Regions from separate parts of the Homo sapiens genome. Here all the other regions are linked to region 1. Evidence: promoter capture Hi-C in 16 types of primary human blood cells and fetal thymus (Javierre and others, 2016). All regions are on one chromosome and are shown on one strand. The core of a region is centred on a gene start or on the middle of the fragment in contact, and the rest is flanking DNA. Distances in the headings are between cores, read along the strand shown. Region 1 holds the start of PLAA (phospholipase A2 activating protein). Region 2 has its middle 5.7 kb from the start of PLIN2. Region 3 overlaps DENND4C (DENN domain containing 4C). Region 4 overlaps B4GALT1 (beta-1,4-galactosyltransferase 1).

What was found. Contacts are between HindIII fragments. The CHiCAGO score rates a contact against its expected background, and 5 or more counts as called.
Region 2: a fragment that was not itself captured here is called in contact with the fragment with the promoter of PLAA in region 1 in 2 of 17 cell types (total CD4 T cells and activated CD4 T cells); the score reaches 5.7 in total CD4 T cells.
Region 3: a contact is called between a fragment that was not itself captured here and the fragment with the promoter of PLAA in region 1, in 1 of 17 cell types (total CD8 T cells). The highest score is 7.3, in total CD8 T cells.
Region 4: a fragment that was not itself captured here is called in contact with the fragment with the promoter of PLAA in region 1 in 1 of 17 cell types (naive CD8 T cells); the score reaches 6.2 in naive CD8 T cells.

The regions. Positions count from the first base shown.
Region 1 is chr9:26,942,631-26,950,615 of GRCh38, reverse strand. PLAA (phospholipase A2 activating protein) reads left to right here and starts at 3,374. Exons shown (of 14, transcript NM_001031689.3): 1 at 3,374-3,719. The coding sequence starts at 3,571. It also overlaps a transcript of IFT74 not described here. RefSeq lists enhancers at 3,051-3,360, 2,950-3,623, 3,621-3,880, 3,624-4,299. The HindIII fragment of the contact is 3,001 bases long and covers 2,925-5,925 here.
Region 2 is chr9:19,129,157-19,137,141 of GRCh38, reverse strand. No RefSeq gene overlaps it. Among named protein-coding and RNA genes, the nearest start is that of PLIN2, 5.7 kb to the right of the region's middle. The HindIII fragment of the contact is 979 bases long and covers 6,246-7,224 here.
Region 3 is chr9:19,371,194-19,379,178 of GRCh38, reverse strand. DENND4C (DENN domain containing 4C) reads right to left here. Exons shown (of 33, transcript NM_001330640.2): 32 at 7,359-7,423; 33 at 4,898-7,142. The coding sequence ends at 7,006. It overlaps RPS6 (ribosomal protein S6), which reads left to right. Exons shown (of 6, transcript NM_001010.3): 3 at 261-471; 4 at 665-811; 5 at 2,528-2,685; 6 at 2,791-3,464. The coding sequence ends at 2,886. Among named protein-coding and RNA genes, the nearest start is that of RPS6, 5.0 kb to the left of the region's middle. The HindIII fragment of the contact is 2,196 bases long and covers 3,387-5,582 here.
Region 4 is chr9:33,133,709-33,141,693 of GRCh38, reverse strand. It overlaps B4GALT1 (beta-1,4-galactosyltransferase 1), which reads left to right. Exons shown (of 6, transcript NM_001497.4): 2 at 6,270-6,505. Among named protein-coding and RNA genes, the nearest start is that of MIR12117, 29 kb to the right of the region's middle. RefSeq lists enhancers at 729-1,038, 1,562-1,941. The HindIII fragment of the contact is 679 bases long and covers 4,365-5,043 here.

The sequences.
Region 1 (7,985 bases), core at 2,125-4,624:
TTTGCTCAAAACCTCACAGGCTAAACTAGTTTTTTGTTGTTGTCGTTTTATTGTTAGTTTGTTTTTTGCTTATTCTAGTGTGGAGGCTAAAATAACTATGCCAGGAATTTGGTTTATAGTTAAACTTTGAGGCAAGGAAAAGTGACCCCCCACCCCAACTCCTTGTATGGAGATTGAAGCTACATTCATAAGACAAGATTAGAATTATGGTAGAGGCTTGAACTTTGCTAAAGAATAGACATGCTCAAACAATAACTTGGCATTGTTTGATTAGCTTGCTTTTCTTTCTTTCTTTTTTTTTTTTTGAGACAGAGTCTCGCTCTGTTGCCAGGCTGGAGTGCAGTGGCGCAATCTCAGCTCACTGCAACCTCCCCCTCCCGGGTTCAAGTGATTCTCCTGCCTCAGCCTCCTGAGTAGCTGGGACTACAGGCGCGTGCCACCACACCCGGCTAACTTTTTGTATTTTTAGTAGAGACAAGGTTTCACCATGTTAGCCAGGATGGTCTCGATCTCCTGACCTTGTGATCCACCTGCCTTGGCCTCCCAAAGTGCTGGGATTACAGGCGTGAGCCACCTCACCCAGCCTAATTAGCTTGCTTTTCTATAGAGCCTCCTGCCCTGGAGTCACGTAACCAGAGGTCACAAGATTTGTAACTTCGCCAAGTACTCCTACAGATAACATCACTATTGTGAAACCTAATTAACTGGTCTTTGAGATATTTTTCAAATTTAGCATTTTGGCAGACCAACAGACACAACCTGGACCTGTGAACCCCACTCCTCAGAAATGACTCAGGTTCACGAAGATAGTTCTGACACACCTGTGATTCATCCCTGACCCAACCAATTAGCATTTCCCATTTCCTAGCCTCCTGCCCACCAACCGATCCTTTAAAAACCTAGTCTCTACATTCTTGGAGGTGGATTTGAGAAATATCTCCCATCCTCCTCGTTGGCTGGCCCTGTGATTATTCATCTTTCCCTGCTGCAACATTTGTAGTTCTCAGTGCATTGGTTTTTTGGAAGGCAGCAGGCAATTACACAGGGAAATGTGAAATTACACATTTCCCTGTGTAAAAGAACACAGGGGCAATTACAGCACGAGGGGAAAACTTTTATAAGGGGTTGGTGGAAGCAAGACTAAGAAAATATACTTACTTGATTGGTTAAAGTGGAAAGTCCTTAGTTAGAGGTTTGTCTGTTTCTGTTAGTTAAGCTTAAGTTTCATTTTACTGTTTACATTGAGTTGGGCTCCAGAGCTGGAACTATCTCAACCTAATGGCCTCCAAATTAACATTTTTTAAACAAGGCAAATTCTTCATGTGTGAAATGGGAATAATACTATCTACCTTGCAGGGTTATTGTGAGAACTAAATGAGAGACTGTGAAAATTGGTAAACTGAATACTATACCAAGTTGAAAAACATTTCCTATTATATAGGAGGCAGTAAATTAGATGGTTAAGATTCATGTAAAATAAAGGTCTTGATAATAATAAAATGTAGTCCGGTAGAAAAGACAGACATAAAAGAACATATTAGAATGCAGTAAATACTATATTGACAACAGACAAAACTGCATTGGTTCCCCAGAGGAACTAGAAAAAAACAGAAGATAAACTGGTGTTGAACTATGACAGATGGAGAAAGTGGAATTCTAAGTTTAAAAAAAAAATGCATGTACAAAGAGCATAGAGACATGGAGAGCATACAGCATAATGTGTTCAGGGAATTGTGACAAATTCGAAATGTCTAGAGTAAGAGAGATAACAGAGGGAGATGAATCTAGTAAAACAGATTAGGGAGATTGTGTGAAAGGCCCTATGTAATGCTGTACTATAAGAATGGAAAGCCGGCCAGGCGTGGTGGCTCACGCTTATAATCCAGCACTTTGGAAGGCAGAGGAGGGCAGATTATGAGGTCAAGAGATTGAGACTATCCTGGCCAACATGGTGAAACTCGTTTCTACTAAAAACACAAAATTTAGCTGGGCATGGTGGCGCGCTCCTGTAGTCCCAGCTACTCGGGAGGCTGAGGCAGGAATCGCTTGAACCCGGGAGGCGAGGGTTGCAGTGAGCCGAGATCGCGCCACTGCACTCAGCCTGGCAGCAGAGCGACACTCCGTCTCAAAAAAAAAAAAAAAAAAAAAAAAAAAAAAAAAAAAAAAATAATGGAAAGCCATCACAGGTTGTCAAACAGAGAAAAAACAATTAAGTGTATATTTCAGAAAGATAATTATATTTTAATGTGTAGGATTGGCTGGAGAGAAGGGGTAGAAAGGCCAGAGAAATGTTGAAATAATTTAAGTAGGACTAATTGGTACAGATTTCTAACAGATAGCTAGAAATACAGATCTAGAGTTTGGAGAAGACAATATGGGAATACAGCTCTAGAAATAAGCCAAGTAGTAAATAATCCACCCAGGGAGGGGATATGATAGCAAAGAAGTATCAAAAGTCAGCATTTCAAGAATGATCTCCCAAACCAGGGGAAAAGTGATTCCAAACCTAGAGTAGGAGTTTTAGGAAGGGAGAAGTCAGAAAAGTGTGAATTGGGCTTAGCAATTTAGAAAGGTTTGTGGAAAAGTGTAGTTGGATGCGAGAGAATAGCGGATGGGAAGAAAACAAAGTAAGGAGACAGGTCATGTTTACCCTGGCACTCAATAAGGTCTGATAATGACTAGCAAGTAGCACCACGGGTGGGTGGGCGGCGGGGTTGTTAAAAATACGTATCTCAGCTCTAACTCAGACCTACTGAATCAGAATCTACATTTTAACAAGCCGCCAGAGAAAAGTAGTTATACCTTTAAAAAATTGACTTGGACCACCGTATTTGCTAAATTTGACAACAGAGAGTAGGAGATTCAGATAACTTGAAACGGAGGAATAGTTCAATGATTAATAGTTCCCAATTTGGCCTCAAGCTTTCTCGTTTTAATTGAAAAACAAGGTTAACTTGCAAAAACCTCGAGATTCTCAGGGAAAAGCAGTGAGGATGACCTAACAGTAGACACCAAACAACCTCACTCAGCCATTCCGCCATGCCCAGCGCGAAAGACTCAGGTTTAAAATATCCGGATTCGGCGCGCCGGATGTCCACGCCAGCTGGCGCGGCATTATGGGAATTGTAGTCCCGGCCCGCTTCCCGATTTACCACAAACTGTTGGGCCCGGAGTCGGAAGAGACCCGGGTTTGGGAAGGACCCCAGGGTCAGGCGTCCTGGTGGAAGGGCGGGCCTCTTTCTCTCTTGCTCAGCAGGGAGTCCAGAGCCCTGGAGGAAAGCCAGCTCAGCTCCGCATCGGCGTCGGCGGTTGGGACGCACACACTCTGCGTCATGGAGGGCTGAGGCCGATGATGAATTCCGGAGTGCCTGTCAGGCTTGCTGTGTCACTCGGCCCGCTCGGCGCGCCCCTTCCCAGCCGCCCTTCCGTACCGGCTCTCGGGCTCTTCCGGTCTCCGGCCGCCCCTTACCTGCAGGCTCTTCTCCCGCCGCGGCCCGGCGCTCTCCGAGTCGCCCCTGCGGACTGGTCTCGCACAGTGCCTGGGCACCGGGCGCCAGACAGACACTGGCCATGACGAGCGGCGCAACCAGGTACCGGCTGAGCTGCTCGCTCCGGGGCCACGAGCTGGACGTACGGGGCCTGGTGTGCTGCGCCTATCCGCCGGGAGCCTTTGTGTCCGTGTCCCGAGACCGCACCACCCGCCTCTGGGCCCCAGACAGGTGAGCGCTGGGAGTCGGGTTGCCCCGGCTGTGTTGCACGCTTCCCGGAGAGTGGAAGGAGAGTGACCCTTCCCTGTCAGTCCTGCCGTCTCTCTCTCCCCCCAGCCTTCCCTCTGCTCTCCGCTCCCTTCCAATTCTCAGACTATTAGAACTCTGTAAGAAACCATCGGGATTTAAGTGGAAAGAGCACAGGGTTGGGGGACCAAAGACCTGCCTTGTTGTGCTAACTTGACCACAGACGAGTCTCCTACCTTTTGGGCCTTCAGTTTTTGGACGATGATCTCCCAAGTTTCTTTTAGACTTGAAAATTTACTGATTGCAGTTGCACCCTCCGAAGTGAGGTAGTTTGAAGGCATCTGAAATGTCCTCTTTTTTTTTTTTTTTCGAAGAAGATGCTCTGTAGTCTTCTGTAAAATTTAATTTTTGAAGACTTTAGTTCTCAAAAATTGCACTGGTGAATCCTCTTTTCGTCCAGGTTAGAATTTTAGTCTGTGGTCTGTGCTGGTCCTGAGGGAGTGAAACCTCTCGGATGTTTTGTTTCTGTGCATGTGCTGTTTCTTGAGGAGAAGCAGCATCCATTGCCTTCAAAGGATTTATCAGAAGGGTTCACGAACCAAAAAAAAAAAGAAGAAAAAGGTTAGGAATCAGTCCTGATCGAGTTCACGGGTTCAGCCCTGATTTGGCTGGTTGTAACAGGATATTTAAGACCTAGAAGACAGATTGCAGTTCAGAGAAAGAAAAATTGAGGTTAGTTATTTTGTTATTTAGTAGGTCTCCCACTGCTAGAGATTTTAGAATTTGAGTCACCATCCATAAATTCAGTTGATAACTGTTGAGTGCCTCCTCTTTGTTTGGGATACTGGAGAGGAATAAAGACAGACAAGTTGCCAGTGTTTCTGGAGCTTTCTTACAGTCTGATGGGGAAGATAGATTAAAAAACAAGCCAATAAATAATTAAAAACTGGCATGTGAAGAAAACATACAGTTAATTAGGTGGAGAGATATATTAAAGGAAGCCTCTCTGAGGAGTTGTTTGTTTAAAGTTGACATTTGAAGCATGAGATGGATGGAGCTGGTCGTGGAAGAGCAAATAGGGAGGATTGAATTGGAAGAGCATTCCAGGCAGCTGGAGGAGCAAACAGGAGGGAATTAGCTGTGAGGTGAGGGCAGGTTTTGAGGCTGGCAAGAGCCAGGTTATGGAGTTTGCAGATGGAAGCCTTCAAATAGTTTCAAGCAGGGAGCAACATGATCTGATTTCCGTGTTGAGAAGTTTCTGCTAGCTGATGGTAGAGAATAGATTGAGAAGGGATAAGTGTAGAAGTGGGTTTGCTTGGAGGCTTTTGAAGTAGTATAATCAACACAAGATGGTCCACTAGGCTAGGGATAGTATAGAGCAAATTCCTGTATTGAATTGAATGAGATGATCTCTAAAGATCTAACTCTAAAATTCTATAATATCCAAAACTACTTAGTAATACTAATATGGAACTTTTTGTTTGAGTACAGTTATTAAGTTTTTGCCTTTAAAATTGAATCCAGTAGAAGCATAAGCCCAGTAGAATATAACCATTGCAGTAAGGAGTATAATCAAGGATGCCTGTTTTAATAATGGAATCCTGTCATTAAACTTTTGGGACTGTACTAGTTTGACAAGGGTTTAATCACTGGAGTGGTTGTGCTTACCAGGAACTTGAAGAACTTTGGGCTGAACTGATTCTCTATTTGAAAAGTGATTTTGTTGTTCATTGAACTATTGATTTTTTTTTTTTGAGACAGAGTTTTGCTCTTGTTGCCCAGGCTGGAGTGCAATGGCACAATCTTGGCTCACTGCAACCTCCGCCTCCGGGGTTCAAGCGATTCTCTTGCCTCAGCCTCCCAAGAAGCTGTGATTACAGGCATGTGCCACCATGCCCGGCTAATTTTGTATTTTTAGTAGAGATGGGGTTTCTCCATGTTGGTCAGGCTGGTCTTGAACTCCTGACCTCAGGTGATCTGCCCACCTTGGCCTCCCAGTGTTGGGATTACAGGCGTGAGCCACCACGCCTGGCCGAACTCATGATTTTTTTGTTTTTGTTTTTCAAAATTCATTCCTGTATGTATTTATCTAACACTGATGAAGAACTTGCATTTTGCCACAGTGTGTGTTAGTGCGTAGTGAGATAAGATTATTTAGTCTCTCATATCCTGCTGGTTAGGTTAGCAAGCTTGTCCATCCTGTGGCCCATGGGTGGCTGTAAGAGTGGCCCAACACAAATTTCATAAACTTTCTTAAAACATTATGAGGCTTTTTTTGTGATTTTTTTAAAAATGCTCATCAGCTATTGTAATTATTAGTGTATTTTATGCGTGGCCAAAGACAATTTTTCTTCCAATGTGGCCCAGGAAAGTCAAAAGATTGGATACCCCAGGGTTAGAGTGTTTCATAGTCATTAGGTGATTAAGCTCTTATTGATGCCAACTGAAGTGTCTCAACCATACCTTTAATGTTGTAAAAGTGTCCTCAAATCTGACATATTGACAATTTTTATTTCATGATACATGTCTTCTCTTTTGTGTTGCTGTAGCAGAATACCACAGACTGGGTAATTTGTAAAGAAAAGAAATGTATTTTTCATAGTTCTGGATGCTGGGAAGTCCATTATCAAGGTATCGGCATCTTGAGAGGGCCTCTTTGCTGCTGTATCATCCTATGGTGGAAGGGTAGGAGAGCACACAGCAAGAGGCGCAGAGGGGCCAAACTTGCTTTTGTAACAAAGCCACTCTCTAACCCAGTCCCGCAATAATGACATTAATCTATTCATGGCGGCAGAACCCTCTTGATCTAATCACCTCTTAAAGGTTCTACTTCTCAACATGGTTGCATTGAAGGTTAAGTTTCCAGCACATGAACTTTGGGGGACACGTTCAGGCCATAATAGAATATTTGTGTGATTTTGTTTTTTTGACACAGGGTCTTGCTTTGTTGCCCAGGCTGGAATGCAATGGCATGATCACTGCCTTATTGCAGCCTCGACCTTCTGGGCTCAAACAATCCTCCCACCTCAGCCTCTTAAGTAACTGGGACTACAGGCAAGAACCACTATGCCCAGCTAATTTTTATTTATTTATTTTTGTAGAGATGAGCGTCTTACTAGATTGCCCAGGCTGGTCTCAAACTCCTGGGCTTAAGCAATCCTCCTGCCTCAGCCTTCCAAAGTGTTGGGATTAAAGGTGTGAACCACCACTCCCAGCTCATAACAGCATATTAATAGAGTTAATGAAATGCTATAAATGTTTGGAGTGAAGTCGTAAATGAAATTTGCTTTCCCATGTAGCCAAGTGGTAAATGAAATTTACCACTGTAAATTTGAATCAGTACCACTGATTCAACTTCAAATTCTTTGTTCATTACTGAATTGCCTCTTACTGAATCTGACCTGGTCTGTCTACCTCTGATGCAAATGAATTTACCACTGCTTTCCATGTATGTTGTTGCTAAGGTTCTAGATCAGGGTAGTAAATGTAGGGATGGACTGGGAATAATGGGGAAAGTTAGTTCTAGGGAGGCAGAAATAGTTCTGTTTTAGAGTAGACTAAACCAGGTACCTAGTCTTTCACAAAAGCCCTTTGAAAACCCAGAAAGTCTTTGGACCTTCAGAGTGGAGACATATCTGTTGGTTGGGCATTGAACTGAGCCAGCAACATGCCATTGTTTCAGACTACTTCAGGTCTCTATAAGCTAGCTTCAAGCTAAATTACATTTCCCAAGTCTGTCGTTGACTTCTGGGTGGGGAGAGATGAGTGAGATAGGACTTCAGCAGCTTTGCCTTTATATTGCCTTGCCTTTTGAAAAACGACCCATGCTTGAAGACACATCTTCAGATATAGGATCTGATTATATTAATCTATATTAATAGATTTTTTAGTTGTAATCTATTAGTTCCTACTGTAGAATATGAGAATTTAGCTCTCTTTCTGCCTTCCACTCACCCCATCACGTATGCATCTTTTTCTGTGCCTTTTTTTTTTTTTTTTTTTTTGAGACGAGTCTCGCTCTGTCGCCCAGGCCGGAGTGCAGTGGCGCTGTCTCGGCTCACTGCAAGCCCCGCCTCCCGGGTTGACGCCATTCTGCCTTAGCCTCCCGAGTAGCTGGGACTTTAGGCGCCCGCCACGGCGCCCGGCTAATTTTTTGTATTTTTAGTAGAGACGGGGTTTCACAGTGTTAGCCAGGATGGTCTGGATCTCCTGACCTCGTGATCCGCCCGCCTTGGCCTCCCAAAGTGCTCG
Region 2 (7,985 bases), core at 5,486-7,985, 7.8 Mb after region 1:
GAGAGGTGAAGGTTGCAGTGAGCCGAGATCGCACCACTGCACTCCAGCTGGGTGACACAGAGAGACTCTGTCTCAAAAAAAAAAAAAAAAAAAAAAAAGCTGGGTGCGGTGGCTCACACCTATAGTCCCAGCACTTTGGGAAGCTGAGGTGGGCAGATCACAAGGTCAGGCGTTCAAGACCAGCCTGGCCAACATGGTGAAACCCCATCTCTACTAAAAATACAAAAAATAGCCGGGTATGGTGGCAAGCGCCTGTAATCCCAGCTGCTCTGGAGGCTGAGGCAGGAGAATTGCTTGAGCCCGGGTGGTGGAGGTTAGAGTGAGCCGAGATTGTGCCATTGCACTCCAGCCAGGGCAACGGAACGAGACTCCGTCTCAAAATAATAAAAAGAACGAAAGAAAAGAAAAGAAGAAATGAATATAGGAACTTTCCTCTGTGATTGGATAGAGCTATCTTGTGACAAGAGAATAGCAAAAGTCACCTGTCTGAGATAATGTTTTGGAAAGGACATTATAAAGCCATATACAATGTAAGCAATTGTTTTTGTTGTTGTTTTTGATTAAGACAACACAACTGAAGGGAACCCTAGATATCATCAAGTCTAATTCCTTCATCTTATGATGTCTATGTGGACACTGAAGCCTGTCAGGTTAAGTGTATTTGTTGCCCAAGAGCACACACTTAGCAGAAGTAGCAATGTAGACTTTAGAATTAGACAAACCCTATGCAGGGCCCGGCTCTGCCATTTACTAGTTTATGATTTAGGGCTGGGGAGCGCCTCAGAGAGGTGAAAAGCTGAGCTACACAGAGAAAGTGGAGTTTTCCAGAGGGTCAGGCAATACAGACAGAGGGAGCAGTATATCTGAAGAGGAGCTATGACAGGGAGGATGAGCTTAATGAAGAAAGGGATGCAGGTGGCTGTAGCTGGAGCACATGGAGCTCTTGGGGGAGGGACGAGAAATTATGGGAAGAAAGGGAGGCTGTTGTCTTGTCTCTGGAAGAGGAAACTCCACTGCCAGATTTTTTTTTCTTGCTATATCAATATTACTTTGCATCAGCAACATACCCAAAGAAGCCTGAGTTGCTATAATACAAACTCTAGAAAAGGTGGCTTTTCCAGCAGAGTCTCCTATACTTCTTAGTCTAGGAAGGCAGACTGGAAAGGGCCTGGGATATTACTGGTCCCTTGAAGTCCCTTCCAATAATCCTGTGAGCTGAGCTCTCTTCAGCTCAATGCCCAGGAAGGCTTTCTTAGGCAACAGTTCTCGGGGTGTGTTCAAACAAACAAACAAACAAACAAACAAAAAACCATGAATAATAGCTACCATTTCTATGTGCCTGGCATTATTCTGTTGAGTGAATTGATTCATTTAATCCCCACAAGTCTTATGAAGTAATCACCGTTATTTTTCTACTCCTCAACTTTTCAAAACTTTTTTCTTTTTTTTTCTTTTTTTTTTTTTTTTTGAGATGGAGTCTTGCACCTGTTGCGCAGGGTGGAGTGCAATGGTGCGATCTCGGCTCACCACAACCTCTGCCTCCCGGGTTCAAGCGATTCTCCTGCCTCAGACTCCCCAGTAGCTGGGACAATAGGCATGCGCCATCACGCCTGGCTAATTTTGTATTTTTATTAGAGACGGGGTTTCTCCACGTTGGTCAGGCTGGTCTCGAACTCCTGACCTCAGGTGATCCGCCTGCCTTGGCCTCCCAAAGTGCTGGGATTACAGGCGTGAGTCACCGGACCCAGCCAACTTTTTTTTTTTCATTAAAAAAATTTTTTTACCAGCCTGGCCAATATGGTGAAACCCTGTCTCTACTAAAAGTACAAAAATTAGCTGGGCATGGTGGTGCGCACATATAGTCCCAGCTACTCGGGAGGCTGAGGCAGAAGAATCACTTGAACCCAGGAGGCAGAGGTTGCAGTGAGCAGAGATCACCCCACTGCACTCCAGCCTGGGCGACAGAGTGAGACCCAATCTTAAAAAAAAAAAAATTGTTTTAGCCAGGCACAGTGACTCACGCCTGTAATCCAACACTTTGGGAGGCCGAGGCAGGTGGATCACCTGAGGTCAGGAGTTCGAGACCAGCCTGGCCAACATGGTGAAACGCCGTCTCTACTCAAAATGCAAAAATTAGCCGGGCGTGGTGGTGGGCACCTGTAATCCCAGCTACTCGGGAGGCTGAGGCAGGAGAATCGCTTGAACCCAGGAGGTGGAGGTTGCAGTGAGCTGAGATCATGCCACTGCACTCCAGCCTGGGCAACAGAGTGCGACTCCATCTCAAAAAAAAAAAAATTAGCCAGGCATGATGGCACATGACTGTAATCCCAGCTACTCGGGAGGCTGAGGCAGGAGAATTGCTTGAACCCGGGAGGCAGAGGTTGCAGTGAGTCGAGATTGCGCCATTGCACTCCAGCCTGGGCAACAGAGCAAAACTGTCCCCCCCCAAAAAATTTTTTTTTTTAATAAAGATAGGGTCTCGTTGTGTTATGCAGGCTGGTCTTGAACTCCTAGTCTCAAGCAATCCTCCTGCCTCGGCCTCCCAAAATGCGGGGATTATAGGCATCGGCCACCATTCTCAGCTCACAACTTTTTATTGGAAGTGTAAGATCCATACAAAAACATATATGTCATAAGTGTACAGCTTGATGAATTTTCACAAAAGAGCATACACATGTATGTAACTAGCTTCCAGAATAAGACATAAAAAGTTACCAGCACCAAAAGGCCCCTAGCAGTCACTAGTCTTCCCACCCCCAACTCCCTGCAGAACAACTACCATCCTTACTTTTTACAGCAGAGCTTACTTTGTTTTTGTATGGTATGAACCTGTAGGTAACTGCTTTCATTTCATTTACATTACATTGCATATATGTGGTTAGTTATGGGTCTCTTCATTCTCTCTTATCACTGTATAACAACCTAAACTTTTCATTTTGAAACAGTTTTCTAAACCCACAGAAAAGCTGAAAGACCAGTACAATGAACACTCATATAACTGTTTTTTGTTTTGTTTTGTTTTTGAGGCCTTCTTATTCTGCTGCCCATGCTGGAGTGCAGTGGCGCCATCATGGCTCATTGCAGCCTCTACCTCCTGGGATCAAGTGATCCTCCTGCGTAAGCCTCCTTAGTAGCTGGGACTATAGGCACACGCCAACATTCCTGGCTAACTTTTGTATTTTTTTTGTAGAAATGGGGTCTCCCTATGTTGCCTGGGTTGGTCTTGAACTCCTGGGCTCAAGCAACCCTCCTGCTTCAGCTTCCTAAAGAGCTGGGATATAGTTGTGAGCAACCGCACTCAGCCTTATAAAACCTTTACGTAAAACATGAAGAGCTATTATTATCTCCACTTTACATATGAGGAAACTAAGACAAAAAGAAATTAGGTAACTAGCCCAGGTCATGCCCCTGGGATCTAATTTTGCCTAGCTTGCTGCTTAGTCATAAAACTATAGCCAGATCATATAACTTATCTGAGACTGTTTCTTTACTGTTAAGATGGGAGTAATAACCCCACTCCATCAAGTTTCCAGGCTGTTGTGAGGCTCAAATATGAGCGACATGGGAAAGTGCTTTGTGAAGAGTAAAGTGGTGGCACCTATCGTCACAAATGCAGGCTTCTGGGCCCCACCCCTCATAGATCTTGACTCAGTAGGTCTGGGGGAGGAGGCATAACGTTTGACAAACATCTTCGGTGATTCTGATAGTTTCCAGACCACCATGAGAAAACACATTTGTAAAACAGTAGCTTTCAAACTTTAGAAATTATAAGAATCACTTGAAGGAATTATCAAAACACAGATTGCAGGGCCCACACACAGAATTTCTGATTTACTAGGTTTGGGGTGAGGCCTGAGAATTTGCATTTCTAAGTTCCCACGTGATGCTAATGCTATTGACCCAGGACCCCCACTTTGAGAACCACTGCTGCAAAGCATTTATATAGGTCAGTTATGAGTACTGGTTAACCTGATAATCCACGATAATTTTATTAAGAGTGACTTCTAAGAAATAATAAGTTGGGGCCAGGCACCGTGGCTCATGCCTATAATCCCAGCCCTTTGGGAGGCTGAGGCAGGATTGCTTGAGGCCAGGAGTTCAAGACCAGCCTGGGCAACATAGTGAGACCACATCTCTAACACAAAATAAATAAAAAAGAAAGAAAGAAAGAAAAGAACAAATAAAAAATAGGAAATATTTATAAAAAAATTATTGGGCACTCACAAGCTGAAACAGTTTCAACTATTTATTCAACACCTTAGTGAACACCTGCTCAGTGCGGGCATTATTATATGTTAACTAGAGGTTACAAAAAGAAAAAAAGTTTTTTGACCTCAAGGAAAAAGAATGTATGAACACATAAATAATATTGTGTGATAAAGGCAAGCATAGGCCGGGTGCGGTGGGTCACACCTGTAATTCCAGCACTTTGGGAGGCTGAGGCAGGCGGATCACGAGGTCAGGAGGTTGAAACCATCCTGGCTAACACGGTGAAACCCCGTCTCTACTAAAAAATACAAAAAAATTAGCCGGGCATGGTGGTGGGCACCTGTAGTCCCAGCTACTCGGGACGCTGAGGCAGGAGAATGGCGTGAACCCGGGAGGCGGAGCTTGCAGTGAGCCCAGATCGTGCCACTGCACTCCAGAGTGAAGACTCCGTCTCAAAAAAAAAAAAAAAAAAAAAAAAAAAAGGCAAGCATAAATGTACAAAGTACAGAGGTGCAAAGATGTCTGAGTGATAGATTCCATCTAAGGTAGTCGGGAGGTCTTCCTGGGGGTGGTGGCATCTGTCCACCACCCTCAGGTGGGAATTTGAAGGATAAATTCCCAGTGAACAAGGTGGAGACAGCATGAGCAATGACATACAGGAATCCTATAATAGGATGTGTTCAAAGGACTGTAAGTAAATCTGTGTGACTAGAGCTTAAAGTTTAAGATAGGTGCAACACAAAGTATCTGAGACAGGACTCAATCAATTTAGAAGTTTATTTTGCCAAGGGTAAGGACACACACATGGGAGACAGGTCTGTGCCTTTCTCCAAAGATGATTTTGAGGGTTTCAATATCTAAAGGGGAAAGGAGTGGATACTGGGGAGAGGAGAAATTGTTAAGGGGTGTGGGCCAGTAAGAGGCAAATGGTTGCATTCCTTTGAGTCTTTGATTAGCCATTGACATGTGAGATGGGGGGGTAGAGGAATAGTCACGCATTCATCTAGCTCAGTGAATCTGCATTTTTAAATAAGATAAAATAAACATAGGCCAGAGGGAGCAATCAAATATTAATTTGTCTCAGGTGAGCAGAGGGATGCTATTGTGTTCTGTCCTATGTCCCACATCTGTGAATATAAGCTATCAATTTACATTGTGAGGATGAAATTCAACAGAACTTTTTAGGGTAAAGATCTTGGGGCCCACAAGGAATTTCCTAGTGGGCAAATTATGAGGGAGGTATGTAGCTTTTTTGTTTTGTTTTCTTTTGAGACAGAGTCTCACTCTGTTATCCAGGCTGGAGTGCAGTGTCTCCATTATAGCGGTCCCCAACTGCAGCCTTGACCACCCAGGCTCAAATGATCCTTCCACCTCAGCCCAGCAAGTAGGACTACAGGCGCATGCCACCACACCCGGCTAACTTTTGTATTTTCTGTAGAGACGGGATTTCACCATGTTGCCCAGGCTGGTCTCAAACTCCTGGGTTCAAGTGATCGCCTGCCTCAGCCTCCCAAAGGGCTGAGATTACAGGCATGAACCACTGCGCCTGGCTTATGTAGCTTATCTTTGAATAGGAGGTTTGTGTGACACAGTCCCCAGCTTGACTTTTCCCTTTGGTTCAGTGATTTTGGGGTCCCAAGATTTATTTTCCTTTCACACAGGTAAAGTCCGGAGAAGAAGCTGGTGAGAAAGAGACAGGAGCCAGATGCTGAATGACGGTAAATCGAATCCTGGAGGGAACCAAACAAAACCCTGAAAACCTCCAGGAATCTCAGGTTGGCCAAATCCTTGGTAATGTCCTGCCACTCCCCAGGACTGCCACACTGTACACACCCTATCTAATGGCAACCTACTGCAGGGGCCAAGGAAAAACGTCTCCTTTGTCCTCTGGAGGTTCACTGAAAAATCAACTGGCGGAAAGCAAATTAACAGGTCAAAAGATATACATGTATTATTATAAAAAGACGTAAATGTATTATTGGGCATGTGGGGGAACCACAGAGTAATTACTCCACCTCTCAGTGGGCTCAGAAGCTTATATACCCCTCCTGAGGTTACAGAAAGTTTGGGGGCTCAGAGAATGGTGGTAAATCAGGATTTAGTGGCAAGACAGAAATGGAAACTTGGCTAGCAAAAGTCATTTCATTATGTAGATTGGGGTCCCCAAACTTTGGGCCATTTACACTGTGGCCATTTACATTCCTGTTAGGAATAGGGCCGCACAGCAAGAGGTGAGTGGCGGGTGAGTGAGCAATACCGCCTGAGCTCTGCCTCTTGTCAGGTCAGCAGCTGGTATTAGGTTCTCTTAGGAGCAAGAACGCCGCTGTGAACTGCACATGCAAGGGATCTAGGTTGCGGCTCCTTATGAGAATCTAATGCCGATGATTTAAGGTGGAACAGTTTCATCCTGAAAACCATCCCCCTGCCCTGGTCCATGGAAAAATTGTCTTCCATGAAACCTATCCCTGGTGCCAAAAAGGTTGGGGACCGCTCATGTAGATGAAACCTCACAGGTAGTAGCCATTGGAAAGAATAGATGGTTGATGTTTCTTTCAGACCTTTAAAGGTGTCAGACTGTCCATTAACCTTTCCTATATCTGGACGAGGGAAAACCTCAGAGAGCACCTGGCTGCATCAATGCAGATTTTCTCTGTATATTGCAAGCCTCTCTCACACACACACACACACACACACACACACACACACACACACACACACACACCAAACAGCTTCGTAGGACTACTTCCGCCTGCAGGTCCTCTGAACAGCCATATCTCAAAATATGTGAAAGAAGTATATTTTGGGGTAAAATTTTTTGGTTTCCTTCACTACACATCTCACCTTGGGTGTTATTCTTGCCACTGGTTTCATGTTCTCAGACTCACGAAGCTGAAAAACAGTTGGGGATGCAGAATTTGATGTGCTTCATCCTTTGTGGGCTTGAAGAGTCTCTTGTTCCCAAAATTATTCCCTGGGGCCCTCTGCTTCACAGGCAAATAAAAGCAAAAAGAAGCTTGCTCAGCCTTAAGTGAGGAAATGACTCACAGGTTTAAAACAAAAAAGGAAAAGATGGAGGCATTTTGTAGGTGAAAGGGCGAGAGTCTTCTGATGCAAAGTAAGAGGTCATTAGAGCAGGGATGGATTATCAATAAGCAGAGCAAACATTTGCTTAGGGAACAAACAGCGCCGGAACACGAAAAAGAAAAGAAAAACATAATAATTTAATTACTTAAAACACTGAAGATGGCAACATAGGAAAAAACCCAAACCAGAACATTTTTGGACTTCATAACATTTTATGGTTCAGTATTTATGGCTTAGTATTTTATTTTGAATTACATGTGGGGAGGAGGGGTAAAAATACTTTAATTTTTCTTGCTAAGTAAGTACTATTATATATTCAGGTATAATGGGATAAGGGATACCATTTTAATGGGTCCGTTTGGAGCTTTAAATATGATCAACAGTATCTGTGTGCATGCAAGATTGGTTAAGAAACTGGGTTAGACCGAGTGCGGTGGCTCACGCCTGTAATCCCAGCACTTTGGGAGGCCAAGGCGGGCGGATCACGAGGTCAAGCGATCGAGACCATCCTGGCCAACATGGTGAAACCCCGTCTCTACTAAAAATACAAAAATTAGCTGGGCGTGGTGGCCCGCGCTTGTAGTCCCAGCTACTCGGGAGGCTGAGGCAAGAGAATCACTTGAACCCGGGAGGCTGGGGTTGCAGTGAGCCAAGATCGCGCCACTGCACTCCAGCCTGGCGACAGAGCGAGA
Region 3 (7,985 bases), core at 3,235-5,734, 7.6 Mb after region 1:
GTTTGATATTTTATCTTCTTAGTGCTGTTATCTCTAATAAAACATCGGTTAGAAATGCGACTTGAAAGACATTTGATAATTGAACTTGACAAGTTGGGAATATAGACAAAACTCACTGAACAGAGAAAACGTGCTTAAGTTCAAATTGGTTTTCATAATTATACTTTCTCATATAGGTGTGTTCACAGAGGTCACAATCCTGTACTGTATAATTTTGGAATAGAAATAGTAAATGTGTCATTCATTGTATGCTCTTGCAGGGTTATGTGGTCCGAATCAGTGGTGGGAACGACAAACAAGGTTTCCCCATGAAGCAGGGTGTCTTGACCCATGGCCGTGTCCGCCTGCTACTGAGTAAGGGGCATTCCTGTTACAGACCAAGGAGAACTGGAGAAAGAAAGAGAAAATCAGTTCGTGGTTGCATTGTGGATGCAAATCTGAGCGTTCTCAACTTGGTTATTGTAAAAAAAGGTGAGGGTTACTTGTGTTCAATTTTCGTTGAAATTGATTTAAAGCCAGTTGTCCAAATGCTTATTCATTTGCAGTATCCAGACTTACAGACCAATGGATTTGTTTCTCTACCATCAATTCAACATTAAACATTCTGATTTAGGATTCTTAAGGAAGTTGTTGAATTAAAATCTCTTCAACTGTTTCTTCTAAGGAGAGAAGGATATTCCTGGACTGACTGATACTACAGTGCCTCGCCGCCTGGGCCCCAAAAGAGCTAGCAGAATCCGCAAACTTTTCAATCTCTCTAAAGAAGATGATGTCCGCCAGTATGTTGTAAGAAAGCCCTTAAATAAAGAAGGTAGGAGGGATTATGCAATTAGGGCTTGCTTAATTTTGGTAATTTGTCTATCATTTTGTGTGCATATCAGAAGATAAATATGTGCCTTTGGAAGGCCTTAGCACTATTCACTTGGAGTTTTTACAGAAAATATTTGGGGGTGGCCAGCATACCCAGTTGGTGTTAATCCTTGCTTATTATATCCAGTGCCTTGTAGAGTGCAGTAATTTCGTTGAAAATCTGCTTGTGAATCTTTGATGTATACATTATCCAAAAATAACCTGACTTTAAGGTCATTGCTATCTGGTTTAGGAGTCACATGTTTGAGAATTCTGGGACTATTAGCACCACACACTTTGTAATTTTATATCAGATGTTCTAAATTATTAATATTTTTTAAGAGATGAGGTCACACTGTTGCCCAGGCTGGTCTTGAACCCTTGAGCTCAAGTGATGCTCCCACTTTGGCTTCCCAAAGTGCTGGGATTATGGGCGTGAGCCACCACACCCAGCCCAAAATTATTTTTTGGCTTACAAAAGAAGTTGCTTTAAACTTCTGTTTCATCTGTAGGATATGGATAACAATAGTTAAGAGTTGTGAGAATTAGAAGTTAGAGACCTTACTCAGAATACTAGGGAGCAGGTGTTAGGGATTTTGGAGCTTTACCTTTTAAGAACTTTTGTCCATATAGTAGACAACATACTCACCAGTGAGGACCTCAAATAGCAATATTTCTGTGGTGAAATTTGGGGATATTTATGTTAAATAAACAGCATGTCAGTCAAGGTTGGGTTTTCCTGACAAAATTTGAAAGAATTTCTCTGGATTTTGGTTTTCAGGACTGGTGTGACTTAACATACATGGCATAGATAGTATACGTCTGTTAAGTCAGTAATTACACTTACTTGAGCACAGGTACTGTTCAAGGTGCTGAGAATACAGTATAGACAAATTCCTACCCTTATGAAGCTGATGTTGCAAAAAAAAAAAAAAAAGCAATTGACAAATAGGTGGCAGTTGCCCATAATCATAGCCCTGGAAATAATCCGTATAATACAAGCGTGGTCTGGTTGATGGGTATTTTTAGATGGTTCTTATGTCTATAGTAGGAGGCTTAACATTTTAGCAGAATCTGAACATCTGAGCATTTAGCCTAAGGCAGTTAACTCCTACAAAGTGTCCATGAAACAAATACATCTGAAAAGGCCTATGCTCCAATGCAGATCTGTAATCCATGAGCAGTTTTGGAGTACAGATCAGATTAATGAAGATACTTTAACAACATGCCACCTAATCTGATGTTAATAGTTAACGTTACCCCTGAATTGGCAGGAATTGTCAAAGGAAATAGAGATGCAAGCTTACATCAAATTTAAAAGTATGGCAGGATGATTATGTAGATAATGTGTTAAGTGGTTTTCACAGACAAATTAACTATGCACAGTTATATATTAACATAATGCCACTGTATTTTAGTAAAACTGGAAGGTAGTAAAAGTTAGCCTGGTTATTTTTCAGGACTTGGTTTCCCTTATATTTTTATAATATTTAACCAATCTTCTAGATTTCTGTGGAGGGGCAAAAAGCATTTTAGAATAGTTCTGATTTGATTTTAAAGGCCTCATTATAGGTTTTCATAGATGCTGTTAAGCTTACGTTTATTTCTGATGTTTTTAAAGTAGATGTGGATTCTAACAAAACAAATATTGAAATGATTGAGTCCTTTGAATTTTTAGGTAAGAAACCTAGGACCAAAGCACCCAAGATTCAGCGTCTTGTTACTCCACGTGTCCTGCAGCACAAACGGCGGCGTATTGCTCTGAAGAAGCAGCGTACCAAGAAAAATAAAGAAGAGGCTGCAGAATATGCTAAACTTTTGGCCAAGAGAATGAAGGTTAGTCTAAGATGATTTGAGGGGGTGGGAGGAGTTCGACCTGGCTTTGGATTTGCGTCTTTAACCCAGAAAGGCCTTAACTGTTTGCTGTTTTGTTTTGTTTAGGAGGCTAAGGAGAAGCGCCAGGAACAAATTGCGAAGAGACGCAGACTTTCCTCTCTGCGAGCTTCTACTTCTAAGTCTGAATCCAGTCAGAAATAAGATTTTTTGAGTAACAAATAAATAAGATCAGACTCTGATCTCTGTTGACTTTTCATTGCTGATAGAAAACTACATAAATGAAGAGAGGGAAAGTTAGGTCATAGAAAATGGGGATATGTATATATGGTATTCCAATGGTGGATAAAGTCAGACCTATTGTGTGTGGTAGTGGAAGACAAGGTCAGTGTACAGGGGTTCCTTTCAGGGGATGGGTGGCACAGGAAGGGATTCTGAGCATAAGACACCTGCCTCTTCAGAATGGCATGGAACTTAGGGGAAATGATGAGGACTATTAATCTTTTTTATATAGTTTATTTTTGAGGAATATAGCTCTTTAAAGCACTATACACAATTTAATACATGAAAATTGACCTTGTGAAGATGAACATGTCTTTTTTAAAAGGTAACTTTTAAGGCATAGTTTTAGTGGATACCTAGTTTTAGTGGATACCATCCACTAAATGGTTTTTAAGCCATTTCAAATTTGTTTTAACAAAGCTTTTCAACTCCAGTGAATTGTTAGGCTGTTCACACACTGAAAAGGAAATGACTAAAAACATTCTTGGATCAGTGAAAAATGCACAAAGTATGTACTTTTTTCTAACAGTTCTATGCTGACTAGCCTATTGTGACAATATCAGGATCTTTAGAAGGTGGCACATTAGGCTTTAAGGTTGAAGTAATGCAAGCTCTTTGTTGGCATTACTGTAATAATAGCTTTACAAAGCAGAGTTCTAAATGTTAAATGTACATGTGAATCACCTAGGGGTCTGGTTAAGGCGCAGATAGTGATTGATAGAGGAGTGGGGACCCACATTTTTACATTACTAAAAAGCTCCCAGGTGTTAGGCCGGTAGTGCCAGTCCCTCGATGCCTACTAAGATTCTTAACTATTCCTCTTACTACATGGTGTTAAAAAGCTACATAACATGAAAAGAATCTTAGTTGGCAATCAATAATAATATGCAGAACTTAAAAGGCAAAGGGGATGGCCAGGTGGGGAGGCCAAGGCAGGTGGATCACCTGAGGTCAGGAGTTCAAGACCAGCCTGGCCAACATGGTGAAACCCCGTTCCTACTAAAAATACGAAAATTAGCGCATGCCTGTAGTCCCAGCTACTCGGGAGGCTGAGGCAGGAGAATCGCTTGAACCAGGGAGGTTGAGGTTTCAGTGAGCCAAGATTACACTGTTGTACTCCAGCCTGGGCGACAGAGCAAGACTCCCATCTCAAAAAAAAAAAAAAAAAAAAATTTAGCACAAGCAGAGAGAGGAACTTAAAAGCCACAAGGTGAGTCCAGTGTTATGGTCCAAAGTTTTATATTAACCAGTTCTTGTTTATGATGCACAAAACATGAGAACCGCCCTGCTTTCTGAAAATTGAGTGCAGCCACAAAATAAGGACAGTCTGTTTTTCCTTAGATTTTTTTTTTTCTTTGACACAGGGTTTCACTCCTACGCCCCGGATGGCGAGCAGTGGTATGGCTCACTGCAGCCTTGACCGCCTGGGAACTACAGGTGTGCACTGCGGCTAGTTTTTGTGCTTTTTGTAGAGTTTTGCTATGTTACCCAGGCTACTCTTGAACTCCTGGGCTCAAGTGATCCGCCTGCCTTGGCATCCCAAAGTGTTGAGATTACTACAGGCGTGAGCCACCATACCCAGTTCTCCACACACACGCAAGTCATTCTGACATGTCGTTAACTATGCAGGTTGTGATCAACCTGTACAATTCGTTCGTTGGAAGAAAAAAAAATCGCTATCGAACCCCAAACCAATATAAGGTACTGCTGAGTAATCTGGACTAATTTGAAAGATTGCTTTTAGAAGTTATCAGGATTAAAGTTGCATACAGTGCTACAAGTCATTCCAGGTACTTCTAAATCTTTCCATAATAATGTTTTTGTCTTGTAAATTTTTAGTGGTACCCTCTCTGTGGTGGGTATTGGAAAAAGCCTTTAAAAATTTATAACAAGAAATCAGTCCCAATATCTAAATGGCAGCAGCAGACTAAAGTTTTCAAGGTAGAGATCTTTACAGATTTTTTTTAATGGGAAGCGCGTCAGTAAGTGAAAACTTGAGTTCAAGTTACGAGTGAAGGAATGGAAAAAACAAAATATTGGGATTCTAAAGATTACAGATTTCAAGAGGCTTAATGTAACAGAAAACAACAATTTTTCATTTTATTCAACCTCAATTTTTATATGCAAGGTAATTCCAAACTTCTGTTGGGTCAGTAAGTGTTAAGTATTAAAACTAGTACCAAGTCTTGAGTTGCAAAAATATATACTCTCAGACAGTGCAAAAGATCCATTTTGAAGGTAATGAAAATTGTACATAATTTCTGACAAATTGTTTCATTTAGCATTTTCACAATAAATTCACACTAGAATTCTGCATAGGTCAGATTAACCCTGAAATGTTGAAAGACTGGTACAATAACTATAATTTGTAAATGGTTACATCAGGTAGAAGGGAGTTAGGTTGTTACTGTACCATATGGAAGTAATTTTACTGTGTCAACTCATTTAGTCATCTGCATAATTACTGTAAACACACACAAAACCAATGGCTTTTTAAACCATGCAGAGAGTTAAGGCAAACTTACTGTTCCTAAGGGATATTTTTAATAAAAGGCATGATAAATGTCAAAGTGAGGCATGTGAGATCATGATTTTCTTAAACCTACTGGCAACAAGCTTAATAAATTTACAGTTTTAAGACTTAATTGATTCAACCTAAAAACACAGTATTTACAAATGCACATTTTTACTCACAAGCATACAAATCTAAATATACAAGAATAAAACTTCCGTGTGCAGTGCAAGTTTATCCCACAGGTTTTAAAAAGTCATCAATACCAACAATGTATGTGCCTGAAAAAAGATTTCATGTTCAATGACATACACTTTAGCATTTTAAGCACATTCCAATGAATTCCATAAATTATTAGGCAGCTGATTTAATTTCATTTTAACTATCTGATGATTGATTCATTTGTTCCCATTTTAAAACTATTGCAAATTAACATTGGGAAGAGGATGGAAGTAACTGGATAATCAAGATAAAACCCATTAAGCAAGATAATACATAATATGAAAGGTGTATTATGTTGGTACAAAAATAATTGCGGTTTTTGCCATTAATAGTGGCAAAAACTACAATTAATTTTGTGCCAACCTAATACATTAAAGTTAGGGAAGGCAGCTGTCATCAGATTTTCAGGTAATTTTAAGATTAATGACTACAGACAAGTTTAGTAGTAGTCATTTATTTAATAGTCAATGAGACCCCTTTCAGAAAACCGTATTGCAACATGCAATCTATTTTAATAAATATACACTTAGAATATGGCTGTATATACACATACCTACACAGCCCTACACATATACAAACTTACACAAATATGTTGCTCTCTTTTTTTTTTTTTTTTTTTTTTGAGACGGTCTCACTCTGTCACCCAAGCTGGAGTTGCAGTGGCGTGATCTCCACTCACTGTAGCCTCTGCCTCAGTTCAAGCGATTCTCCTGCCTCAGCCTGAGTAGCTGGGACTACAGTGGTGCGCCTGGCTAATTTTTGTATTTTTAGTAAAGACAGGGTCTCACCGTGTTGGCCAGGCTGGTCTCGAACTCCTGGCCTCAAGTGATCCACCCACCTTGCTCAGCCTCCCAAAGTGCTGGGATTACAGGCCTGAGCCACCGTGCCCGGCCATGTTGCTTTTATAATTGAGATATTTCATTTGTTTTGGGGGTTAGGCAAATTTAATTTGCCATTCCTCAAACTCAGTAACTTCAAATATAAACAATGCCTAGAATGAATATGGTTCCTCATTATTTCTATCAAACTACTACAAATACTGAAGAATCCCAAAGTAGTTTTCCACAGAGGCAGAAAAGCAGTTCAGGGGTTGAAAATCTTCAATATTAATAAGCCCTGGGACATTCAAATGGCACTTCATATTTCAAGGTAATGCAATATGAATCATAATTCATTATATATTGTCCCCAAGAGTTACTTCAATTCCGTATTCACCAGTTCTTACGATTTGGAAAAAAAAACTTGAATGTTTCCAGATGAAATCTAATCCCCAAGCCTTGTGTGTCAACATTCTAGTGAATCTCTATTTAAATGAGAGGCGCTCCAAAACACTTCCTGCACCACTCGACACTGGCACTTGGTGGAGCATCAATTTTCTGCAACCTTTCAAGAATCTCTGAAGACAGACTATTGTATGCAATTCCATATTCATTGTCAAATGCCTCTGAAAGAAATTTTCAAAAATGAAGTTGTAATTTGTTAAGAAAGACAACAGCCGTTCATTTCAAATTGGTATTGAGTCAAATTATATGTATTTGAACTATATATTTAGAAGTAGAAATCTTTTAAATCTTTTATACATACCAGCTACATTTTTAAAAATTACTTTTGAAAATAAAATGTAAAACTTCCTTTCATAATCTTTTATTAACCAACTTACCAATATCAATATTCTCTCTTCCTAGAGACACTAATGATAAGAAGAGGATTTCTCTGTATAAACTCCTATAAAACAAATATGTTTTAAAAGTCAATGGGCAAATAGCATAAAAACACAGATGCATTTTTTTTAATGGTGAAGACATTAAGTTCTGTCATCTAGTTAATAGTAATATAACTATGTCAATGTCCTGGTTTTAATATTACATTACAGTTAGTTATATGAGGTGTCACATTTGGAGGAAGCTGTGTGAAGGCTACATTGAATTCTGTACTATTTTTGTAACTTCCTGCAGGTTTCTATTCCAAATTAAAGTTAAAACATAGTTAATGGGCATAAAGCTTCACACTAGTAACAAAAATGGCTTAACTTTATTACATTTCAACAATACATAACTGTTTTAACTCTAATTTCTAAATAAAATTTACAAAAGCAGAGTCTTCTCTCATCTTTTGTCACTTGACAAAGTAACAGATTAATTTCTAAGTAAGTTAGGGGTCTAAAACCCTTGACACAAACAATGTAAAAGGTGGTGTGGTCTCTTTACTATTTAACCCAATAGCAAAGGACAGTTCACCTTTATTTGGTTTGTGAGCATTAAAATGTTACAAATGAAACACTAAAAGT
Region 4 (7,985 bases), core at 3,455-5,954, 6.2 Mb before region 1:
CCTGATGGAGGAGCTGCTTCTTTGCAAAGCTTTCCTTGACTCTCTTCCTGTCCCCTAGTTGATTCCCCTTCTGTGCTAGTTTTAGCTTATTGTTTGTTACCTGTCACACTTAGCAGTACTGTTGGCTTTGCTGGTCTCCTTGACTACTGGGGGTAAAGACCTTTTGTTGTTGTTGTTGAGACAGAGTCTTGCTCTGTCGCCCAGGCTGGAGTGCAATGGCGTGATTTCGGCTCACTGCAACCTTCACCTCCCAGGTTCAAGAGATTCTCCTGCCTCAGCCTCCTAAGTAGCTGGGATTACAGCTACACCACACCCGGTTAATTTTTGTATTTTTAATAGAGATGGGGTTTAGTAGAGATGGGGTTTCACCATGTTGGCCAGGCTGGTCTCAAGCCCCTGACCTCAAGGTGACCTGCCTGTCTCAGCCTCCCAAAGTGCTGGGATTACAGACATGAGCCACCATGCCCAGCCTCAAAGACCTCTTCTTTACTTGCTCACCCTGCCGCCCACTCCCCTACCAACCCCTGCATGCCCTATACCACCTGGCACATGATACATACTAACTGGGTACATGTTTGAATATGAATGGATGTGGTGCTGTGAATGCTTAGGGGAAGTGGGTGAAATGCTTAAGAACCAACCTTGAGTGGTCTGGGAAGGCTTCCTGGGAGGGTGGTGTTTGAGCTAAGGCCAGGCAGCTGTTAGATTTGTTAGACTGAAGCCCTTGCAGACTTAGAGAGCTTGTGCTCTTCCCAGAATGACGGGTGAGCCACGTACAGTAAATGGTGCTTCTCATTTCTAGCCCAAGGGGCCTCAAGGGGCACCGTGATTTCACGAGAATGCTGCAAGCAAATCTTTTCTCAAGCTGGGGAATTTGGTGGTAATGCCTGGCTCAGCTTGCGGTGCGCACCTGGCCTTTGGAAGATTGGTACAGAGAGAAGCGGCCCATCCACATGAGCCTGTGGAACAGCACTGGTGGGGGAGCTGATTTGTGAAGAGGGGCTGTGCAGTGTACTGTCAGGTCTGAGACCCAGGAAGAAATTCCAGTATCCCAGCTCTCAGAATCACAGAGTTCTAGGCACTGCCTAGTTCCACGTGTTCCCAAATGTTTCCTGAATACTTGGATTTCCTGTCCAGAGAATTTTCAAAACAAACTTAGAGGCCTGACCCATGGCTGCCAAGGAAGGATTTTTTTTTTAAATTAAATTTTAAAAATCAGTCCAGCATGAAAATCTATGATGATTTCATAAGAGAAAGGACATTTTAATATTCAAAGAGTAAGAAGCACTTAATCTTGGAAGAAAGGGCATTCCTATACTTTGATTACCTTTAGTTTAATTAAAAAACACCTACATGGTCTTTACTTCTGTGATTTCATTCCTGGGCTAGTGAAACATTGTCACAATAAAGCATCAGGCCAACGCTTCTTTCGACCCACTGGCCAATCAGTTGACAAACAGTGACTAGATGTTTCAGCCTATTTTGCTGAGGCTAAAGGATTGAACTAGTGCTTCAGCCAGCATGAAAACCAGTCAGGAGTCCGTGCTGGTGTTGGCTTAGATTAGCAGGGCCTTTGATGGAGGGGCATGTATGTGTTTGGGTTTGCTGTGCCAGGCAGGGGAGCAGTGGAATTTGTCTGAATTGAGCTCACACATTGAAGTTATTGAGCGACTTACATGCAAGGCCATGACCTGGACTCCCAGCCGAGAGGCCCACGTGGCGGGGCTTGAGCTGGGGGAGCCGAGGACAGCTTACATCTGCTCATCTGCTTACGTAACCCTGCCTCCCAGCTTCCAGAGCCAAGAAAACACACAAGCCAGCCCAGCGGGGCCGAGAGCCTGTGGTAGCACACGCCATGCGCCGCACAGCAAGGGCGCCTTGGCTCGGCTTGAGGCCTGTCATGAAGCCCTCAGCCCTCTGCCTCCTCCCAGAGCTTCTCCCCACCACCCCAGGCAGTGGCTCTGAAACCTGGTCGCAGGTCTGCATGATTCTGAACAGAGGTAGTCGTTGCCTTCCTGGAGTCTGAGCTCTCTGGAGTTTCTCACTGGGACAGAGCCAGGTGTGTAGCAGAGCATGGTCCCTGCAGTATGGCAGGAGGTGTGCAGGGCATTCAGGAGGCCTCCTGGCTGGCACTCGACCCAATTAGTCATTCAACGCCAGGTCTGGGGCTGCTGTCTGTTGTCTCAAAGGTGTGAGCTGCAAGATCCTTAGAGTTGTGGAGAAAAAATTGCCAGATTGGCAAGAAGGGCAGGATTGGGGGTCAAGGTGTCTCAGTGTGTTGGAAGCATGATGGGGGTTGTGCAAGGGGCACAGCGAGTTCAGAAGGGAGCAGGAGAGTGAGAAGAGGCTGTTCAGTGATAAAGCTCTGCACAGAGCCATTGGAGGAGCAAGCTCCTTGACCATCCTTAAACCAGGGTAATTTTCATTTAGGTTCTGCCACACGCTCAGCAGGGAACTCCTGGAAGGCAGGATTTGTCTTGTCCATCCTCCCTCCCTACCTCAACCCACTCCTCCTTGGGCTGGCACACAGTAGGTACCCAGAAAGTATCAATTGAAACAAATTGAAAGTGGTCTTGATACATATCACAGGGCAAGTTTGCAGTTAACAGACATTTCAGAGTAAAGACTCTCTGGCTTGGTGCTCGATCGGCTTCTGTGGGTTGTCAGCATGCTGTGGACAGCCCCGGCATGGGAGCGAGTGGGCGTGTGTGTGTGTGTATGTGAGGGTGAGAGAGCGTTAGTGTGTGTGTTGGGGTTGGGGAGAGAGGAGGGGGAATAGAAGATGGACCACCCGGGTATCAGCTTCTGCCCTGGGGAGATGGTGGTGTCAGTTGCTGAGGGAATCCTGAGAAGCAGGTCTGGCTGTAGGTGGTGATGGTGGTGGGGTTGCATGAGAATCCATTTGGGGCAGGTTGAATTTGAGGTGCCCATGACATATGGCTAGCCATGTTCTGTTGGCTGTGAGGTCAGGAGAGAGACATGAGATGGAAACAGAGGTTTGGGAACTGTCATGTGCTTAAACCAAAGACCTGGGTATAGGGAGAGTGAGAAGAGAAGGGGGCAAAGATGGACATCCAAGAAAGAAGCTGAGAAAGCCTAGGAATTTGAGGTAAGAGGAGACGTAGGTAAATGTGACGCTTGGTGATCAAGGCTTCTTTCCACCTCTCCTATGCTGGACACTCACGTCTCCTGTCTGCTTGGAAATTCATGCTGAGGGCAGGGAAGGTGGGAGCAAGGATTTGTCTAAAGATCTTGCTTTGGATCCCTGCACTCCTCCTGGTTTACCAAGTGTCACTGGACACGTCAGGGCGTTCTGAGACCTTAGAGAGCATCCAGTCCTGTCCCTGCAGTTTACAAATGAGGAAACCAGTACCCTGAGAGTGGCTGTACTATCCACTCTCAGGATACCAAAGATCATCTGGAAAGTCACTGGTGGAGCTGGACCGGGGCCCAGGCATCTCTTCTCCTGTCCGGGGCTCTTGACTTCAGGACCACCTTTCTGAAACCCATGATGGGGCAACACCAGGACACTTTCCAGCCTGCAGGTGTCTGTCCCGCGGAAGCGAGCCAGGCCACATGTGAATTCCTGTTTTCTGGGTGGGTTTCAGAAGGTACGAGCAAGTCGGCAGGGTGACAGCCCAGGTGCTTCTTGGGTTCCCCAAAACGCGGTTATGTTTAGCAGCATCCTCAGAACCAAAGGTGGGGTGGGGGCTGCAGATGTTGTGGGGGCCCTCTGAAGTGAAAAGAGCCCTGTGACAGATCTTTTCTTCATGTTTTTCACAAGTTCACTGTGCAGCAGGGCCCCCCCAGTAGCCTTTGCCCAGGGTTGGGTGTTGGGCAGCCCAGGCCTGGCTGACCTTGTGGGGAAGGGTGTGAATGGTGGGAATCCCCGAGGGCCCTCTTTGCCCGAAAGCCCTAAGCCTTGACATCAGATGCCCATCAGATGGTCCATCGGAGCCCTACTACCCAGCTTGCCCAGTGAGAATCATCTGGGCTCCTTGTTAGGTAGCCATTTAGGTCCTTCCCAAAATCCACAGACTCTCTAAGGGAAGGGCCCGAGATGCTGTACTTGTACTAACTTCCTCAAGCAATTCTTGTGATAGGTTTGGGAAAAACTTGTCCAGGGTGACCACTGACTGAGTCCTGGTCTTCTCTGAAGAGCACAGTGCCTGCTCACTTTAGGGCACCCTGGGAGGTGGGAGCTGGCTCAGCAGGCAGTCTTATAAGGGACTGAGCTTCAAGGCCTCTGTCCCTCCAGGAGGGAGGTGCATGACCAGAGAGGGAGGCCTGAGGATCTTCTTCCCTGCCCCAGAGGGTCTGCTGCCTGAGCTCTGTGATAGCGCAGAGAGTAAAAGGATCAAGCTTGATTGAGGCCTATCTCTCAATGCGAAAGTTTGCTAGTTAAGAGGAGAGTGGGAAGGGCATTTCTGGCAAAGAGAAAAGTGTGGACAGGCATGGCTTAAGGGATGGGGAGGGAGACAGACAGAGCTGAGGGTGAAGGGCCTTTTGCTCAGCTGTGGGCCTTGGCCTTCCCTTGTGCAGGGACACACAGCCTTAGAGCCACTGGAGGTTTTAGTGGGAAAGTAATATGGTCGGGGCTGTATCTCAGAAGAAAACAAACTAATGGGAACAGGTCCTGTGATGGTGGACCTGGGTCAGCTACGGAGGGAGGGAAGATGTGAGATGTGTACTGGGGAAGGGGGTGGAAGTGGCAGCTATCTGGTGAGAGGAAGCAGGCCCACAGCTTTTTTTCTCAAGCTGTTGAATTCAGAAGGGCGAGTGATTCCGGGAGTAGGGGGTGCTTGGAGAGCCACGCGTTATTGATAAACAGGGCAGGCTGAAGCCTGCTCACTGGCCCTGGGCGGGTTCTCACCAGCATGTTTCAGGTTTTGATCTGTGCTTGTGGTTGGTGTTCCTACCTGTTCTCTAGGTTCCTTCCTTTGTTCTTGTGGCTCATTTGCTTCACAGGTGAAGCTGGTTACACTAGAGTAACAGTTCCCAAAGTGTGTTCCCTGGAAAAATGGTTCTGTAGCCAAATAAGCTTGGGAAATGGTGGGTTAAATATAACGAAGGGGGTTTTTCGACTGCACAACTTCTCAGAGCCTTTGGTGTGTGTCGTGACTTTGCAGAAGCAGGATTTAATACGCAGCATTCCCGTTCTTATTTGACCACGAGACATGTTTTTCCATTAAGCATCTTGCTGGGTCTGATGTTTTCTGGAACCCATTTTGAGGCGGTCTGGTCTGCAGAGAGTATGGGGAGCCTGGGTTCAAGCCTTGGCTCTTGACTCTCAGCAGAGCCTTGATTCCCTGTGTTGCCTGGACTGCACCACGTGTACCACATACCCGGTATGTGACGTTTTCCTCATCCCTCTTCCCACCTGCCGTTACCTCACAATCCACAATCTGCACCTCATCCATTTTTCTTCTGAGGCAAGCACTCTCTTACTAACTTACTTATCTCATCTGCATCCATGTTCTTCTAGGCCAGAAACTTGGGAGTCATCCCTCCCTCTTTGTTACTTCTTCTTCCTCTTTGTTACTTTATCCCCTCTGTTACTAAACATTCTTCTGTGTTTCCAGCTATTTCTTTTATTTTCCCTCGGTCTCCTTTGGGGTTTCTTTGCCTCCATCTCTCCCAGACCTTGGTTCACCTTCCATCGAGTCCCTTCCTGGGACATGGGCACTCATGCCACTCCTGCTACCTTCCACTTCGAAGCTAACTCCCTCCACACTGACGTCCCCAACATGCATGCATACACACACACACACACACACACACATACACACACACACACACACACTTCCCCAGTTAGGCTAGAATCAGAGAGATGATGTCAGCCATTTGTCCAAGGCCACGCAGCTGGGAGGTCACAGAGCTAAGTCTCAACCTCAGGGGTTTTGAGAAATTGCCTTCTCATCCGTGATCACTGATTTCTACAACAGCCTGTCAGGAAGTCTGGGTAGAAATTACTTCCATTTTACAGTGGAGTCAGAGCGGGGAGGGTCCTGGGCAGGCGAGTGCTTCACAGAGTGACCAACCATCTAGGTTTGCCCCACACTGAAGGGGGTTTCTGGGGATGGTTGGTCACCCTAATGCTGGATGTGGTGCCTGATGCTGGGCAGGAGGGCCCTCTCCGTGGCCACGTTGCCTCCCAGGAGGAGACATTTCCTCTGCAGCTGCAGCTGCAGCCTGGCCATCTGATGCAGCCTGTGGAGCGGTGGCGAGTCCTGTGGCCTGCTAACTTCTCCCTCCCTCCACCTCTCTAGTGGGCCCCATGCTGATTGAGTTTAACATGCCTGTGGACCTGGAGCTCGTGGCAAAGCAGAACCCAAATGTGAAGATGGGCGGCCGCTATGCCCCCAGGGACTGCGTCTCTCCTCACAAGGTGGCCATCATCATTCCATTCCGCAACCGGCAGGAGCACCTCAAGTACTGGCTATATTATTTGCACCCAGTCCTGCAGCGCCAGCAGCTGGACTATGGCATCTATGTTATCAACCAGGTGAGGCCTGGGAAGGTGGAATGAGAGAGGGTGTGTGTGCATGCAGATGTGTATCAGATGTGTGTGTAATGAGGGCAGGGGAAGGGGAGTGATTTCACAGACACCTGGCACTTACAGCGAGGAACCAGCCCCCCAGCCACCACCAGTGCAGATGAGGTAAACGCCAAACAGTGTGCTTGCCTATTGCTGTCAACTCTATAGCCAAGGGAAATGCTGGAGTGTTTTCGTTGTTCTGTTTTTGTTTTCTGGAAGTAGCCTTCCAGCAAGATTGGGAAAAAAGACAACCCTAATTATTCCAAAGTACACACTGATTATTCCCTGGCTTTGTGTAGCTGTGTATTTTCCTTTTAAAAATAAAACCACCATTTAGATGTCAGACTTTTAGGTAACTTCAAAGTTTATCCAGTCAGTCAGAGCGTGTCTCCTGGGGCACCTGGAGACAGTGCCCTTAGTTCAGGTCACATGCCTACATGCCAGCCCCTGGTGAAATATCTGGAGAAGTCTGATTCGTGGGCCATCTGAGAGTTATGTGGACTGGGCCGAGTCTGAGAAAAAGTTTCTCACTGCTCGTCTGATCCATATGTGTTGGGCTTTAGCCCTGCTTAGGAAAGTAATGCTAAGGATAGGTCAACTTTCATCACCATGGCATGGAGAATCAGATTGATCTAAGAGGCATCTTTATTGAAATAAATTTTTCAGTTTATTTGAGGAGCATTATTTTCCCAAGAGTATAACTTTGATATTTCAAGATTACCCCTAACACTTAAATTCATGTTTTTAGACTATAACCTCCTAGGTGCAATGACACATCTAACTTATCTAAGCACCCAGTTTCATTGAAATTCATTTGAAGAGTCTGAGTACGCCCATTTCTACAAGGCCCAATGTCCATTTCATTTCGAGATAAACTCTGCTTTAGGTAGGAGGATTGTTGGCAGTTTACGGCTTCCATCAAGGTCAAGGAACTCTGTGCACCTTCCCTATGACCCCAGGGGAAGCACTCGAGGACTGCTGTGGCATTGTGCTGCATCACTTGCTGCAGGGAGATTCTGAAGAAGTGTAAGGTCTCAGTCCTGCCCTGTCCCGAAGCCTCCAACCCACTTCTGGCAAGTGGGACCTTCCCAGGGAACAATTTGTTAACAGACCCAAATATCCTGTGATTGGATGGTGGCTGCCAAATGCTTTGGAAGCTCAGAGGAAGGAGAGAGAGCAATGGCTTGGAAGAACCAGGATATAAACTAGGTTCTAAAGTCTGCAGGGAGATGGGCTTCTCAGCTGGGGCCAGTGAGCAGGGACCTTAAGGCAGAAAGGAGCCTTGCATGTTCCTGGAAATTGAGATGCCCACTGGGGTAGGAAAGCACCAGAAGCTCTGGGACCAGGTGTCAGAGTTAAGCCTGTGAGGCAGGAGAGAGCAGAACAAGCCCTGTTACAAGGAAACTGAAGCAGGAGAGCAGGTGGTGGGCAAACCCCTTGAGGCTGT